2 separate regions of the Homo sapiens genome follow, and region 1 is linked to region 2. The links are contacts of gene promoters, found by promoter capture Hi-C in human tissues and cell types (Jung and others, 2019). All regions are on one chromosome and are shown on one strand. Each heading gives the region's core, a stretch centred on a gene start or on the middle of the fragment in contact. The rest is flanking DNA. Distances are from core to core; before and after follow the strand shown. Region 1 overlaps STARD9 (StAR related lipid transfer domain containing 9). Region 2 holds the start of STARD9 (StAR related lipid transfer domain containing 9).

Region 1 (5,179 bases), core at 127-2,626, 62 kb before region 2:
AACAACATTGAGCTAAAAATCAGGAGGTCTTAGTTCTTGTTCCAGCTCCACTTCTGACACTCTAAGGCAATGATCAAGCCAAGGTTCCCCCTTGATTCTCTTTCCATACATATACAATAGAGTTTTTTGTATTTTTTATTTTTGAGACAGAGTCTCGCTCTGTCTCACAGGTTGGAGTGCAGTGGCACAATCTTGGCTCACTGCAACCTCCGCCTCCCAGATTCACCGCACCCAGCCACAGAGGTTGTTTCTTGAGTGAATTTCAAACATGACCGTTGAGCTCTATTGTTCTGTGAAGGCATCTCAAGGGCTACTAGACAGCCAGGGTAAGTTGGGCCACAGAAGGAAAGACCTGCTTGTTAAGTCTATGGGTAGGAAATTAAGTTTCCTACAACCAAGGGCCTAAGTATCTTTCTCAGCTCTTGTACTGCAAGATATTTCTTCTGTGGCTTTTCTCCATCCCTGTGGTGACTCTGGAAGCAAAGAGAGGACAGCTGAACATGGTAGAATTTGGAGTAGAAGAAGAACTACTGTAGGTCCCAGAGCTTGGGAGGTTCTTACCTTACTTTTATCCTACAGGAGGAAGGCAGTGAGGCACAGTCTTTCTCCCTGACGAAGAGACCCTGCACAAACCAGAGGGTTGGGGTTTCATTGTAGGAATTGTAGAGAGACCTACTTTGAGAGGATCCAGCCAAAAGATAGTCTATACCTCACATATCCGTGGTGTCAACCCAACAGAGGCCTGGTGAACAGAAGAAAGGAAAGCATTATTGTTTACTTAAGATGATGCTCTCCCCCACAGAATACCCAGGAACCATCCTCAGCATGGGGGATGAGTGCATGGACTCCTTGTGCTAGCCTCTTCACTCCAGGCAGTTTCACTGGGGAATATAGAAGACTTTTATGTGCCAGTGCTCTGAGAGACACTCATGGGAGAAATGTACCAAATGAGAGGAATATGTATCACCATAAGAAGGAAAAGAGGAGAAGCCGGCAAACCCAGATACCTGCTTTTATGCAATGAAGATTACATTATTCTTGGATAAAAACACTTTACCAATGTTCCCCCAGCCCCCTATACCTCCAGTCCTTACAGGCGGACAAGAGTATATGAGTATTCAAAATACACATTTAGACCAGGTGTGGTGGCTCACCCCTGTAATCCCAGCACTTTGGGAGGCCGAGGTGGGTGGATCACTTGAGCTCAGGAGTTAGAGACAAGCCTGGGCAACCTGCGGAGACCCTGTCTCTACTAAAAATACAAAAAAATTAGCCAGGCATGGTGGCGTGTGCCTATGGTCTCAGCTAATCGGGAGGCTAAGGTGGGAGGATCACTTGAACCCAGGAGGCAGAGGCTGCAATGAGCTGAGATCGTGCCACTGCACTCCAGCTTGGGTAACAGAGTGAGACCCCATCTCAAAAACAAAACAAAACAACAAAAACAACAACAGCAAAAAAACACATTTAGAAAGAGGTAGTTTCTTTTCCCATCTTGTATCCAGTGCTAACTTGTACTCGGTTAAGGGCTTTATACTTTTCGTTTAGTGGCCAATTTCTTTTTTTTTTTTTAATTATTATTTTTTTGAAATGGAGTTTCACTCTTGTTGCCCAGGCTGGAGTGCAATGGCATGATCTCGGCTCACTGCAACCTCCATCTCCCGAGTTCAAGGAATTCTCCTGCCTCAGCTTCCCAAGTAGATGGGAGTACAGGCACCCACCACCACACCTGGCTAATTTGTATTTTTAGTAGAGATGGGGTTTCACCACGTTGGCCAGGCTGGTCTTGAACTCCTGAGCTCAGGTGATCCGCCTGCCTTAGCCTCCCAAAGTACTGGGATTATAGGTGTGAGCCAACATGCCCAGCCCCAATTCTTCTTTTAATGTCAAATACTATGAAATCACACTAAACACAGGACAAAGCGAGCAATGAGCTAGGCCCAAGGCATCAGGGATAATCATCTAAGAGGAATCATGTCCTATAGAATGTCCCTGTGTAGTGTTTATTTGTTACCCACCTAACAGGACATATATACTTTTAGAGACAGGGTCTCTTTTTATTTATTTTTTTGAGACAAAGTCTCGTCCCATTTCCCAGGCTGGAGTGCAATGGCACAATCTCAGCTCACCGCAACCTCTCCCTCCTGGGTTCAAGCGATTCTCATGCCTCAGCCTCCCAAGTAGCTGGGATTACAGGCGCACGCCACCATGTCTGGCTAATTTTTGTATTTTTAGTAAAGACTTGGTTTCACCATATTGGCCAGGCTGGCCTCGAACTCCTGACCTTGTGATCTGCCCGCCTCAGCCTCCCAAAGTGCTGGTATTACAGGAATGAGCCACCCCACCCAGCTGAGACAGGGTCTCTTACTCTGTTGCCCAGGGTGGAGTACAGTGGCAAGATCATGGCTAATCACTGCAGCCTCAACCTCCCAGGCTGAAGCCATCCTCCCACCTCAGCCTCCTAAGTAGCTGGGACCACAGGATGTGCCCCCACACCCAGCTAACTTTTGTATTTTTTGTAGAGATGGAGTCTCCCTATGTTGCCTAGACTGTTCTCAAATTCCTGGGCTTAAGAGATCTTTCTGCCTCAGCCACCCCAAAGTGTTGAGATTATAGGTGTGAGCTACTACACCTGGCACCCTGACCAGGATATTTCTAAACCCAAAACAAAAAGGTATTCTTAAGCAACTCTGCCCTCCTGATTTTCTGTGATAAAGGAAGCCTCTCATTAAATCCTGCATACTTTTGAAAGCCCCTGACTCAGGAGCTAGTTCTCCTGCTTTCTTCCAACACACAGATCTAACACATGTAGGCTTGGAGCTTGGCCACAATAATCAAATCTCTGCACAGCTCTAGCATGCACTTAAGATTTAGTCCAGGTCTTGTCCACAACAAAGGTGCAAAACAGATCCAAATAATGAACCTGGAGATAAGTAGAAATTCAGCAGGACTGACAAGAACTGCTTTGTCAAAGGGAGCTGTAAAATTCTAAGGCTCTTCAGGGTTTAATAAAGAGGGGTTAAGGCCGGGCATGGTGGCTCATGCCTGTAATCCCAGCACTTTGGGAGGCCGAGGCGGGCAGATCACGAGATGAGGAGATTGAGACCATCCTGGCTAACACGGTGAAACCCCGTCTCTACTAAAAATACAAAAACTTAGCCAAGCGTGGTGGCGGGTGCCTGTAGTCCCAGCTACTCTGGAGGCTGAGGCAGGAGAATAGCGTGAACCCGGGAGGCGGAGCTTGCAGTGAACTGAAATTGCGCCACTGCACTCCAGCCTCGGCGACAGAGCAAGACTGCGTCTCAAAAATATATAAATAAATAAATAAGGGTTAATTATTCAAAGGTTACCTTCCAATTAAATGCTGAAAAACTCATTTTTTTTTTTTTTTGAGATGGAGTTTTGCTCTTGTTGCCCAGGCTGGAGTGCAATGGCACGATCTCAGTTCACAGCAAGCTCCGCCTCCCGGGTTCCCACCTTGTCCTCCCAAAGTGCTGGGATTACAGGCGTGAGCCACTGCGCCCAGCCGAAAAACTCATTCTTAAAACAGAAGAAGGCTCATTCAATCTTCTTTAAAGTTGACTGCCTACAGAAATCATATTCTGTCTCACAGTAGTAAGGACAATGCAAGGTTCAGGCTTGCTGTGGCATTAGGAATATATATCATTGTAATACTCACTGGGGTCCCCAGCATGGTATATGTCTTCCCAGAGCCTGTCTGTCCATAAGCAAAAAGGCATATGTTATAGCCTTTGGCAACTCCAGACAGTACTTCCATCCCTAAATCCTGGAAAACCTGTAACAACAAAAGCAGAGGAAATATCACTGTGGTCCTTCTTCTCATAGCAGATTTAGAATTATTTTCTAATCTAAAAAAATATAAAATATTTCAAACATACATGACTATTAATTCACTACCATTTCATAAGAATCAATTTAGCTTCATAAAAAGATAGCTAAGGAAAATTCATTCATTCAGCCGGTCAAATTTTTTAAGTGCCTAGTGTATCTAGACACAATACTAGACTCTGAAGATAAGATACAAAAGTAATATGGTCTCTAAACTTAAGGCAAAGAGAGTGTAGAAGAGCAAAGATATGCAAGCAAAATAATTCTGTATCTCTCGTAAGAAAACATTTAATATGGTTAATCAGGTAAAGCTGCAGTGAAATATTGCCCAATAACATACAAATTCAGGGTCTTAGGATACCATACTGAAGATCAGTAAGACCAGAAGTTAGGGAGGTGTTTTCCACATGCATTTATTTTCTACACACTCCCTCCTCAGATTGACCCTAAGAGCTGGCTGGTTCTGCTGGTCATTTACCCCTGCTTTAGTGAATCAGAAATAGGCAGAGGTCCTCATGTGAAAACTCCTGTACTTGGTATACTGCTTGGAAGTCCTACTGAGCTCTGTTAGGCAGACTCTGGTCTCAGGAAAAAATAGCCAGCTTTATGGGGAAGGCACAGCTTCCTAGTTCAGCCAGTCTTCAGCAGAATGCTACGTGGGCATCTGCATACCCACAGCTGGTACAGCGGATATTTACCCTTTGTATTGTTGCCCAGCATCAAAATACTCTTCCTTTGAATCTTTGGTTGTGTCAGTCTTGGTGGGAAGCACAGCTCAATGCTCTACTATAGAAGCCAAACAGGCCAGATATTCCTCTCCATCTAGGACAACACTAGCACATGAAATGAGGCCAGACAGGGCCAGGCGCGGTGGCTCAGGCCTGTAATTCCAACACTTTGGGAGGATGAGGTGGGTGGATCACCTGAGGTCAGGAGTTCGAGACAGGCCTGGCCAACATGGCGAAACCCTGTCTCTACTAAAAATACAAAAAATTACCCAGGCATGGTGGCGGGCACCTATAATCCCAGCTACTTGGGAAGCGGAGGCAGGAGAATCGCTTGAACCCAGGAAGCGGAAGTGCAATGAGCTGAGATCGTGCCACTGCCCTCCAGCCTAGGCGACAGAGTGAGACTCCATCTCAAAAAAAAAAAAAAAGAAAGAAAGAAACGGGGCCGGACAACTAGATGTCACTTGACAACTAGATTATCATTTGAATTTTGAAAGAAAGACATAAAAATAAAGAATAGTTAATAAATTGTCCATGCTGGCATCAAGGATCCAATAGCACTGCTGCTGGGCATACAGTGGTAGAAGTGCCAAGTGTGTGCTCAA
Region 2 (4,832 bases), core at 1,849-4,348:
GTATCCCTGTTCTGACTTTAATTAAACTCCAAATCTCATTTTACATATTCTTGGAAAAACTTTAAAAAAAAAAAAAAACAAAGCTATACAGTGGGTAAAGAGTAAGTTTTGACAGGGCAAATAGTCTTCTAGAGCCTACAGTATTGGCAGATCAGATGTGTTCTCATAATGGTTAATTGGAGTAGACAAAGGGCAGCAATTTCATAATGAGATATGCAATTTCTGATTATGGGAAACTGTGAGGTAGAGGGGAGGACATCAAAACCATTTCCTATACAGCAGTATCATTTTATTGAGGGTCAGGCTGGGCGTGGTGGCTCATGCCTATAATCTCAGCACTTTGGGAGGCCATGGCAGGTGAGGTCAGGAGTTTGAGACCAGCCTGGCCAACATGGTGAAACCCCGTCTCTACTAAAAATACAAAAATCAGCTAGGTATGGTGGCAGGCGCCTATAATCCCAGTTACTCAGGAGGCTGGGGCAGGAGAATCGCTTGAACCCAGGAGGCGGAGGTTTCAGTGAGCTGAGATCGCGCCATTGCACTCCAGCCTGGGTGACAGAGTGAGACTCCATCTCCAAAAGAAAAAAAAAAAAAAAATTGAGCGTCAACTCTAGTCCTACTGAATAAATAGGCACTTGAGACACAAATGCAACTTTTCTGTAATCTCAGAAAGAGCAGTAGGTCTAATGAATCAAATCTTGGCTCTTACTACTTTTAGAACTTAAGCCAAACCATTCTGTCATCTGGAAAAACAAAAAATAGAAGCTTGGGCCAGATCATCTGTAAGATTTCTTCCCAAGCACAACATCAGATCCAATGACTGTCAACTGAGTGTGTGCCAATGACTTATTTGAAGGTTGGAACAAACCACATAATCACCAGATTCCCCACATTCAGATAAGCCTCAATGAAGACAGTATAACACCCCCTGAAGAACAGCTGCCATCTCTGCAGGATTCTGTGAGAAGAGGGAAGTGATCCGGACCTCTTGGCTGGGGCCACACTGGGTTTATCTGTATCTGCTCCTGAATCTTCAGCCTGCTACAATCTGTTCACACCTGGGTATCTACAGTCTTGACATCCTACCACTTGCTGCTCAAGGCTCTTAACTTGAGCTGAAAGTAAATAAATTGTGCTTTCATTTTCCCTTCACTTTTGTTTGGTATGTTATTCTCTACTGTGGCTGCAAGTAAACCAATTTCAGCATCATTTTCTTAATCTAATTCATGCTATTATAAATTCCTAGTGTCCGGCTGGGCGCAGTGGCTCACGCCTCTAATCCTAGCACTTTGGGAGGCCCAGGCGGGCAGATCACGAGGTCAGGAGATCGAGACCATCCTGGCTAACACAGTGAAACCCCATCTCTACTAAAAATACAAAAAATTAGCCGGGCATGGTGGCGGGTGCCTGTAGTCCCAGCTGCTGGGGAGGCTGAGGCAGGAGAATGGCGTGAACCCGGGAGGCGGAGCTTGCAGTGAGCCGAGATCGCGCCACTCAACGCCAGCCTGGGCGACAGAGCGAGACTCCATCTCAAAAAAAAAAAGAAAAAAGAAAGAAATTCCTAGTGTCCAAGGAACTGAGAAGTTACTGAATGTTAGGAGTGGTCAATACTGTTATCCTGAGAACCCTAAAAGAACAGTTTCACAAATACAGAATATACCAGAGACTACCTCCAGCATAGCATCTGCACTTATAAAACCCCCCCCAGCCCTGAGCTACCACATCCAGTTATGAAGAAGCCAGGTGTCACAAGCCATTTACCAATCAAAACGCAGCAGGTCAGGCATCTGCTTTCCCTCTTTCTTCAGTGTACCTCTTTTGCCTTCTTCCTATTCTCTTTAACTTTTTGTTTCTTTCTATCTCATTGCTCTTCTCATTAGTCTGTCAATTACAAGACTTTTCAAAGCCAATCATTTCTATATGAGGACGAACATAATCCACACTAGTACCCAATTTTATTATGGGAGACGATACCTTTCTTGATCCTTCTGCCCAATTATCAAGCTATCTTATGTCCCAGAGATTTTTAAACTTGCCAAATAATTCCAACATGTGCCTCCTGGTCCCCAAAGCACCCTCTGCCAGATTTACCTTCCACCACTCACTTCCCTCCACACCAACCACCCTTTCCCCACCAAAACTTAACCTCTAGTTAGTCCCTTACAGTCTAAGTCCTTTGCTCTTGGCGGTCTTACTACATAGAAGGCTCTTTAAACTCTCTCCACCTGTCAACAAACTCTAATTGATCTTTAAAAAACACTTCATCTGGTGACAAAGAGAAAAAAGTTCGTGGCTGCACACTGGATGTCTCAAGGGCTGAGATGAGAGGTGCGGAATCAAAATAAGCCACGAGAAAACGGGCACTGAGGGCTCTGAGAGAAAGAAGGGGTTGGAACAACTTCCCCTACTTAACAGTTCCGTCCTGGATTAAATCAGCTGTCGAGCATAGAAAGAAACCGCGACCTGTGTCGGCCTCAATTTCCCCCTCACGCCCTCACCTTCTGCTTTCTCCACATCTTCGCAGAGAAGCCCACGCGCACCCAGAAACACACACCATTCAGCCTCAGTCCTCATGGGTACTCCCAAGCCCCCAGAAAGAGAGAGGAGAATGCTCATCCCTCTCCCAGCCTTTCTCAAAGGCCCAACCCGATGCAGCAAGCCTCGAGCCGCCGTCCCTCGAAACTCCTGCTGGCAGGACGCCAGCGACGCTCACCCAGGGCAGCCCTCCCGCGGCCGTCCGGGAACCGCTATCCCCAGGACACAACGCGAAAGCTCGACTGAGGTCCCGTCCCGCCAGGCCTCCGTGGATTCCGGACCCCGACCCCCCGGGTCACTTTGTCACCGATTTCTGCGCGCCAGAATCTCTGCAGGGGGAGACGCGGACCTCCCGCTCTTTTCAGCTCCTGTGAAGCCTCAGGCGCCCTCTCCCGCGGAGACTCACCTCTTGCTGAGCGGCCGGACCCGCACGGCGACCTGCACGTTCGCCATCCGTCTGCCACAACCCAAGTCCAGCGGGTCAGCTCAGCGGCAGCATCCCAGGCCCCCGCCCTAAGCCCAGACACAGCCCCAACCCAGCCCCGCCCGCCCCACGCGCCTCTGGGGACGCCGCCGCGCGGACGCGAGCTGCCGCCCGAGCGGGGCGGTGCCTGCCTAGCTTCGGCCAATCCTGAGCCCGGTGGGCGGGAGAACTCCCGGCCCCGCCTCCCCTCAATCCTCCTTAAAGCCTCCTGACTCGCCCCCGCCCAAACACGCGCCGCAGCCAGAGCAGGCGGGCCCGTGTGGACGTTCGGCCAGTCCTTAGCCTGGTGGGCGGGAGGATGCCAGGGCTCGCTCCGCCTCGTTCCATCCGAAGCCTCCCGGGTCGCCCCCGCCCAAACACGCGCTGCATCCCGAGCTGGGTGGTGCCCGCCGAGCCTTGGCTAGTCGGTGGGCGGGAGGACGCCCGGGCTCGCCCCGCCTCGCTCCGCCCTACAGCCTCTTGGGACGCCCCCACCCATGCGCGTGCCGCACCGGGCCCAGCAGTGCCGGCCCAGCTTCAGCCAATCCTGAGCCGAGTGGGCCGCGAGGACTCAGTGCTAAGTCTGTTGTTCCTGGCCCCGCTTACCCAGAAATAGTTTTTGTTCCTCGACTAGGTGTCCGTGCTATGTAAAGTCAAGTAAATCAACTTTTGGTCCGAAAGTTTGCAAAGTAATTTGCTAAATACTTTTATTCTCTGCGTTCGCTTGAACTGTCAATTCTGTGGTTAAATTTTCGAGGCAGGCCGGGTGCAGTGGCTCACGTCTGTAATCCCAGCACTTTGGGAGGCTGAAGCGAGATCACCTGAGGTCAGGGGTTCGAGTTCAGCCTGACCAACCTGGTGAAACCCCGTCTGTACTCAAAATACGAAAATTAGCCGGGCCTGTTGGCGTGCGCCTGTAATTCCAGCTACCCGGGAGGCTGAGGCAGGAGAATTACTTGAACCCTGGAGGCGGAGGCTGCAGTGAGCCTGGATCGCGCCACTGTACTTCAGCCTGGGCGACAGAGCAAAACCCTGTCTAAAAAAAATAAAATAAAAAAATAGAAGGCAGTCCCTTACTGGCAAGGTACTTCCTGACATCAGGGACAAAGCATAGATGGAACCAATTCAGATAAAGGGTTATTGTCCAGGTCTTCTTGTACAACCAAAAGACAGGTGGCTGGTGTTTATCTTTTCCCTTCAAGGCTTGAGGGTTAGCAGCCATATAGATAAGGGCAGTGCTGATCATAAACCCAACTGCATTTGCACAAAATATTAGCGTATCCCTTCCTGCCTTAAATCCTGGTGCTTGCTTCTCTTCCTTACTAATAAATGTCCTTTGTGGCATTTATTTTTCCAGAATAGGGAACTTGCATATGCACCGAAAAGCTGTTCAGGCAGATACCCTTTCTTCTCAATTATTTCCTTAATGGTGTCTAGGAACTCATTTGCTCCCTCTTGGTCAGCAGAAGCTGCTTCTCTTGTTATCTTGACATATTTTAAACCAAACCTTTCCAAATTTATCAAATCATCCCTTACTGGCATAAAATTGTTTGGATCCTTCACCTTCCTTTTGCTTCAAGTTGTCATATAATGACTTTGCTTGTTCTCAAATCATATTAAGAGTATATAGGTATATAGATAGGTATGTTTTCCTTTTTTTTTTTTTTTTTTTTTTTTTTTTTTTTGAGATGTTGTCTCACTCTGTCGCCCAGGCTGGAGTGCAGTGGCGCGATCTTGGCTTACTGCAACCTTCAACTCTCTGGTTCAAGCAATTCCCCTGCCTCAGCCTCCCGAGTAGCTGGGATTACAGGCGTGTGCCACCACACCCAGCTAA

The links. The method cuts DNA at HindIII sites, captures the fragments that hold promoters and counts their contacts. A contact is called where the count stands out against the background at its distance.
Region 1: a contact is called between a fragment that was not itself captured here and the fragment with the promoter of STARD9 in region 2, in 1 of the 25 tissues and cell types used here (bladder).

The regions. Positions count from the first base shown.
Region 1 is chr15:42,633,470-42,638,648 of GRCh38, reverse strand. STARD9 (StAR related lipid transfer domain containing 9) reads right to left here. Exons shown (of 33, transcript NM_020759.3): 4 at 3,677-3,793; 5 at 710-742; 6 at 562-623. Among named protein-coding and RNA genes, the nearest start is that of STARD9, 60 kb to the right of the region's middle. The HindIII fragment of the contact is 7,138 bases long and covers 1-4,945 here.
Region 2 is chr15:42,573,872-42,578,703 of GRCh38, reverse strand. It overlaps STARD9 (StAR related lipid transfer domain containing 9), which reads right to left and starts at 3,098. Exons shown (of 33, transcript NM_020759.3): 1 at 2,942-3,098. The coding sequence starts at 2,988. It also overlaps the pseudogene EIF4EBP2P2. RefSeq lists silencers at 921-980, 2,961-3,590. The HindIII fragment of the contact is 9,099 bases long and covers 1-4,832 here.